Linked DNA regions of Homo sapiens: region 2 is linked to region 1. Evidence: promoter capture Hi-C in 16 types of primary human blood cells and fetal thymus (Javierre and others, 2016). All regions are on one chromosome and are shown on one strand. The core of a region is centred on a gene start or on the middle of the fragment in contact, and the rest is flanking DNA. Distances in the headings are between cores, read along the strand shown.

What was found. Contacts are between HindIII fragments. The CHiCAGO score rates a contact against its expected background, and 5 or more counts as called.
Region 2: a fragment that was not itself captured here is called in contact with the fragment with the promoter of BCAP29 in region 1 in 2 of 17 cell types (total B cells and naive B cells); the score reaches 6.5 in total B cells.

Annotation. Positions count from the first base shown.
Region 1 is chr7:107,578,543-107,581,750 of GRCh38, forward strand. BCAP29 (B cell receptor associated protein 29) reads left to right here and starts at 1,704. Exons shown (of 8, transcript NM_018844.4): 1 at 1,704-1,759; 2 at 2,217-2,322. The coding sequence starts at 2,231. It overlaps DUS4L-BCAP29 (DUS4L-BCAP29 readthrough), which reads left to right. Exons shown (of 13, transcript NR_163941.2): 7 at 2,217-2,322. RefSeq lists a silencer at 1,562-2,051 and an enhancer at 2,142-2,211. The HindIII fragment of the contact is 6,036 bases long and covers 1-3,208 here.
Region 2 is chr7:107,637,072-107,640,807 of GRCh38, forward strand. No RefSeq gene overlaps it. Among named protein-coding and RNA genes, the nearest start is that of SLC26A4, 22 kb to the right of the region's middle. RefSeq lists an enhancer at 1,497-1,646. The HindIII fragment of the contact is 654 bases long and covers 1,099-1,752 here.

The DNA of each region.
Region 1 (3,208 bases), core at 454-2,953:
TTTCTCAGTACATTCTGTTTTCACTTTTCAGTTAATGCATTTTTTTTTTTAAAGATAACTCGCTGTTTCATTTTCTATGAATACTGTACAAAATAGGGAGGTATGGTCAGAACTCTGAATTGAATTACCCTAGTGTTGTGAGCACAGCATCATCACTAGAGTAATGTGCTCGGTGTTTGGAAGGAACCAGCGTGGATGGGCAAGAAGTTCTAACACTTTTGATTAAAAGTAACTTCCTGGCCGGGCGCGGTGGCTCACGCCTGTGATCCCAGCACTTTGGGAGGCCAAGACGGGCAGATCACGAGGTCAGGAGATCAAGACCATCCTGGATAACACGGTGAAACCCCGTCTCTACTAAAAATACAAAAATTAGCTGGGCGTGGTGGCGGGCGCCTATAGTCCCAGCTACTCAGGAGGCTGAGGCAGGAGAATGGTGTGAACCTGGGAGGTGGAGCTTGCAGTGAGCTGAGATTGCGCCACTGCACTCCTGCCTGGGCAACAGAGCAAGACTCTGTCTCAAAAAAAAAAAAAAAAAAGTAACTTCCTGGCTAGGCGCGGTGGCTCACACCTGTAATCCCAACAGTTTGGGAGGCCAAGGCAGGCAGATCACTTGAGTCCAGGAGTTCGAGACCAGCCTGGCCAACATGGTGAAACCCTGTCTCTGCTAAAAATACAACAATTAGCTAGGCATGGTGGCAGGCGCCTGTAATCCCAGCCACTCTGGAGACTGGGGCCAGAGAATCACTTGAACCTGGGAGGCAGAGGCTACAGTGAGCCGAGATCGCACCACCACAATCCAGCCTGGGCGACATTGGGAGACTCCATCTCAAAAAAAAAAAAAAAATCTTCCTTATGGTTAATTTATGTTCAAAGTCTATTTTTCTATTTTTTCTGTTACATGTGATCCAGAATATTAGTGATAAATTAAGAAAAAGCACCAACTTAAATGTGTTTTTGAATGTTTTATATTCTATAATTATCAATTTTCAACATTTATTTACTATTCCCCAAATAATTGTTACCAGGATAGTACTTTTATTAAATTCCTGATACGTTGTCAATATTGAAAAAACTCAACAACTTAAATGTACACGCACAGTTTGAAAAGCTGGAAAATAGTGAAAGAATATCCCCATACCCACCTTTCGTACCAGTCCCCAAACATCACGGTAAAGTTTACTGTCTCTTCCCAGCCCATGGACGGGAACGGGAACGCCTACGGAATATGTTGTGACATACAGTTGATCCTAGGTTCTCCAGAACAAAATGCTGCACGACCACCTCATCCTGGCCCTTTATTAAATATAGCTTAATTCTGGACACAAACAGTTCCCACCATGAAGAGAGAGTAGGTGACCGGAAAGGAGTGCGTCTTAAGCGCGTTCGCTGAATTTGCACCACCCAATCCAGCCCCGCCGCCCGGCGCCGCTCCTTAGACCTGGACCCCGGCACCCTCCCGCCGGGGCCGCACTTAGCAGTGGAAAGTCTGTCCTCCTGAAGAAGTTGCGCTCCGACCTCCAAGCATCAGGTCAAAAGTCTAACTCATTCTCTGACCTGCCGCCAATTAGAAAACAACTGTTGCCAATAAACGTGGTCGCGCCGCCTGTGACCTCAGCCGGGACGGACCCGCGGGCGGGAGCCTGCGGGGCGTGAGGCGGGGTGGGGCCCTGGCTCCCCTCCCCCGCCCAGCCGCGGCGTCTGACGTCCCGCGCGTCGGCGGCCGCGGAGCAGCGCAGGGAGCCAGGCGGGCTGCCGGCGGGTAAGGGCTTCTGCGACCCGGGGACCCGTGGGGCGTAGGCCGCGGAGGGAGAGCGCCGCTGCCTGGTCTGGAGAACCCCGCGGAGCTGGCCTGGCCCGACCCGGCCCGGCCCGGTCCGCGGCGCGGTGGTCGAGGGCCCGCGGCGCCTTCTGGGAGCGGGAGGGCCGGGAAGCCGGGCGTTGGTGGAGGGAGGCGTTGGGCTTCTGTCGCCGCGAAGCTGGCGGAAAAGGCAGTGGCCAGCGAGCCGCCTCGCCAGTTCCCACGACTCCCAGGGAGGTGGCGACACCCGCTTCCCGGGCCACCCTTTTCCCCTTCCTGACCGGGGTCCGTGCTTGCCTTCCCAGGTGGGGGAAGGTGGAACACTGTCCATCCCCTGGACAAAAACGCTGCGCCTCGGGGCCTTGAACCCGGTTTTGTTTGAAAGGAAGCAAGAGAAAATAAGTGTTTTTCCATTTAGGTGTGAAGAAAAAAATGACACTCCAATGGGCTGCAGTGGCAACCTTTCTTTATGCCGAAATAGGACTCATTTTAATCTTCTGCCTACCTTTTATTCCTCCTCAGAGGTAGGAAACCTTCAAATCGTTAACTAATAAATATTGGATCGCTCTTAATGTAAAATGGAAAAAGTTTTCTGAACATTAAAAAGTTTCGAAAGTCTTTGAAAATAAACTCACCTAACGAATTAGGTAGTATATAATGACAATATTAAAATAACATTTTATATAAAACTCTGTTACGTGTACAAGTGAAATAACTTTTTCTTCCCTTCTAAAAGAAAAGGCGCCTATACTTTTGATTCTGTTGATTACAGATATAATAAAGCAACGATTATACTTTTAACACCTGCCCTGCCTTGTCTCAGGTTTTACCTTTGTTTTATTGCCCTGAATTGGAGCCATGAACTAAATAAATATAAGTGGATAAATCATGTTTACAGTACAGCATGGGTGTAAAAGTGTTTCACTGAGGCACTGGAACAGCAATTTAGAAACCAAAGCCAATAAATTATTCTTAGTTTTCGCCTTTGTAACCGTTAGTTTCATTAATGACAATTTTACTACTTTTGATTTCACATAAAATTAATGAATGTATATTAAAAGTGCTGAATGTGAAAAGTATCACAACCATGTATTAGCATTAGTTCGTTAGTGACGGAACTTCTAAGGTCTTGAAGAACCAAGTACAGTGTTTCAAGCCAAGCAGTGGTTCATTTTACCCTTGCAGTAATCTACTTTTTAGTCGTTTAATTTTAGATCCAGAAATTTGATAGTATGAATGGGGAAATACACATGTAATAAAAATATTGCAAGATATTTGTTCATACTCCTGGCATAAAAGAAAGTATTTCATAAGTGAGATCCTAGAGATAACCCACTAAAGTGTATTAAAATCCCAGGACTGGGAGAAACTTCTTAAAGTTTCACCTTAGCTCAGGGTCCAGATAGTCTT
Region 2 (3,736 bases), core at 176-2,675, 58 kb after region 1:
CCCATCTCAAAAATATAAATATGTAAAAATAAATAAAAGGACTTGTACTTTTTAATAAGCACTCACCATGTGCTAGGTTCTGATTGCTTTATCTACTTCTATGCCATAAACTTTTTTCAAATTTATTTTGCATATTTTTAGATGCCTGCTATACACTGATCCTTGTGATAAGAGCAGCCAAGGTTCCTTGAGCACTCACCATGTGCTAGGGTCTAATTGCATTATGAACTGTTTGTCATTTAAATATTGCAGCAAGCCCATGAAGCAAGTAGTAATATTACCCCCAATTTTCAGATAAGAAAAATGAGGCATAGAGAATGTGAAAATAAATAAAATTTAAAAGCTCTTGGAACCCCAGAGAACACATTAAGTCTTGAGAGATGTGACTGTGATCTCAGCCATGGAGCATGGAGTTGTAATTTCTGCTCCTTAGATTATAGATTAACTCTCTTCTTCAGTGTTCTTCTTCTGTAAATTATGAGGAGAGACAAGAGACCAGACCTCCTTCTAATCACTGATCTTTGTGATAGATTAACTGCCTCCTTTTTTGTACCTGTATTAGTCTGTTTTCACCCATTATAAAGAATTGCCCAAGACTGGGTAATTTATAAAGAAAAGAGGTTTAATTGACTCACAGTTCCACATGGCTGGGGAGGCCTCAGGAAACTTATAATCATGGTAGAAGAGAAGCAGGCACATCTTACATGGTGGCAGACGAGAGAGAGAGAGAGAGAGAGAGTGTATGAAAGGGAAAGAGCCCCTTATAAAACCATCAGATCTCATGAGAACTCACTCACTATCACAAGAACATCATTGGGGAAACTGCCCCCATGATCCAATCACTTCCCACTAGTTTCCTCCCTTGATACATGGGGATTATGGGGATTATAATTCACTATGAGATTTGGGTGGGGACACAGAACCAAACCCTATCAGTACCTAACTCAGTTAAGGTAGCACTAATTACCTCCCAAATTTTATATCTTCAGTGTGGAATGTTAAATAGACCTTTCCTGAAAAGAAAAATATTACCTTGTCTAATTGGATTACTGTAACTATACATTCAGCCATATACAGAAAAATATTGAAATTCTGTTAAGCTTTCTAAACCTTATCTATGTTAAGTGACCTCAAACTTCTACACTTCAAAGTGCTGACTTCCATTCTTTGGAATCTGTCTCCCAGGCCATCTTCAAACTTTGTACTTGAATAAACTCTCTTCAAAATTCAAAATAAACTCTCTTCAAGTCAAACTAGATTCTGACGCTTATTTCAAGTTGACATTTTGGCAACCATGAAAGGACCTAAAGCAAGCCTCTGTTGATTCCCCACTGCATTGCCCACAGTTAGGATCCTGGTACCAGCATGAACAGTTTTCATTCACTTGGCTTCACTGGAGCCAGCAGAGGGTCTCCGGTGAAGACCCTCTCAGGTTTTGAATCTCCCTGATTTGGGTTGAGAATCAGACTTTACTCAAGTGACCCAATTCCACACTTGATGGAGCTGGAATTGAAGCTCTACTTTAAGGTAAGAGTTTTTGTCTGTTCTCTAGATATTCTTCTGTTCACAGATTTGTGGTTTTCACTTTTCTCTAAGGTTAAGTGTTATTTGTAACTGCTCATTAACATTTGTACAGCTTTTTCTCTCATTTGAATTTTGGTCAGGGAAAGAAAGTTTCTCTCTCTGAAAAGAGGAAGTGAATGTGGCTTAAGCAAAATTTGCATAAAAGAAAAAAACCTGGCTAAACTCTGAAGCTTGGTTCATTTGACATATCTAAAGTTGTTTTGTTTGTTTCTGAGTGACCAAAAAGAAAAACTTTCTATGAGGATGGCCAGGTGCGGTGGCTCATGCCTGTAAACCCAGCTCTTTTGGAGCCCTAGGCAGGCAGATCACTTGAGGCCAGGCATTCAAGAACAGCCTGGTCAACATGATGAAACTCTGTCTTTACCAAAAAATACAAAATATTAGCCGGGTGTGGTGACATGTGCCTGTAATCCCAGCTACTCAAGAGGCTGAGGCAGGAGAATCACTTGAATTTGGGAAACAGAGGTTGCAGTGAGCCAAGATCATACCATTGCACTCCAGCCTGGGTGACAAAGTGAGACTCCGCCAAAAAAAAAAAAAAAAAAAAGAAAGAAAGAAAGAAAGAAGGAAGGAAGGAAAAAAAAGAAAAGAAAAGAAAGAAAGAGAGAAAGAAAGAAAGAAGGAAAGAAAGAAAGAAAGAAAGAGAAAGAAAGAAAAAGAAAGAAAGAGAGAAAAGCTTTCTATGAGGATGAAGATAAGTACCAAAGATAAGGGACACTGTTTCTCCTGGCCAAAAGGCATCTTAGGCTAATAAGGTCTTGCGGGAGTGTCTGAACTCATTACTCTTAACATGCAATAGTACTGTAGGGAGTTCTCAAAGAAGAACACACAGGAAATCTTGCTTAACCTGGTGGGCACATATGAAGGGCTGATCTTCTAGTGCCTTAAGTGCCCAGGATTCCTGGCTTTCACCAAGACAGGGAAGAAGAGAGAAGTGATTCACTGGTGTCACCTCAAGGAATAATCCCCATTAAGCAACATACCAGATCAAAAACATCTTTCCCATTTCATCTTTGATCACTTAAAAAGAGAATCCAAATTATGGGCAATCATCCATCTAAAACTGAGTCTTCCTTTTTAAGGAGAGATCCACCTTTAGAAATTCCAGCTGGATTCCTGTATAATATTGTGGTGCAACCTCCAGTCAATATCTAGAAAAGTTGTCTTTCTTAACCCATGAAGACCCCAAACAACAATGACCAAAGTGGGCTATCTTTGAAATACCTAAATTAGCTTATTTATGTGCACAATTAGAAAAAGCTATTTCTAAAATTAAAGAAAATAATTGGGAGAGTTACTTCTAACAGTACTTAGAAGCATCTGAAAAGCGCTCTGACAAAGTTCTTCCTCTACAGGAAGAAAATTAAAAGCCCTCTAAAACCATTTCTAAATTAAAAAAAAAAAAAACTGCCAAATCTTTTACTCCTCCTTCTGCTTCCCCAACTCTTTATTCCCCATCTCTTCCTCATCTGAACGACACTGCCCAGCCTTTCCTTCTTTTCCTCCCCTTCCCCTTCTTCCCACTCCTGTTGTTTTAGCTACATTTTGTGAATGGCTGGTATCTGGTAGAGGAGAACCTGCCTTAACTTATCAACTATGATCAAAGGTAGACATTAAAGGCATAATTAAGGAATTTCCTCATCCCCACCAAGACCCTATTGGTTTTGTCAGGAAATTTGAACTAAATATTCAAGTTTACAACCCTGATTTTTCCAATTTGTATTAAGTAGTTCACATGTTAGTATCAGAAAGTAAAGCTAAAGATTGGAAGAGCTAAGGCAAATTGGAGGAACCACTTGAAGGACTTTCATACATTTTCAGAAGACCACAAATGTGACCATGAGGTTTCAAAGGCTTTGCTCAAGCCACCCCTTCATTTGACCTTCCAAAGAATGGTCGACTGGAATAAAATACAACAATGTCAACAAAATTCAGATGAGTCAGAAATGACATATTTTGAGAGATTCGAAAAAATATTTAAACCATATTCAGGATTATCCAAAGAGAGTTAGGCTAATCATCAAAATGATACTCTCCTCAATTTCAATTTCATAAGTGGGTTACTTAGATGAAGAATTAGGACTAACAGTAAAAGGACAACACCATAGTTGGACAATTGCTCACATTCATGATTTGGTTAATTTTGCTGATC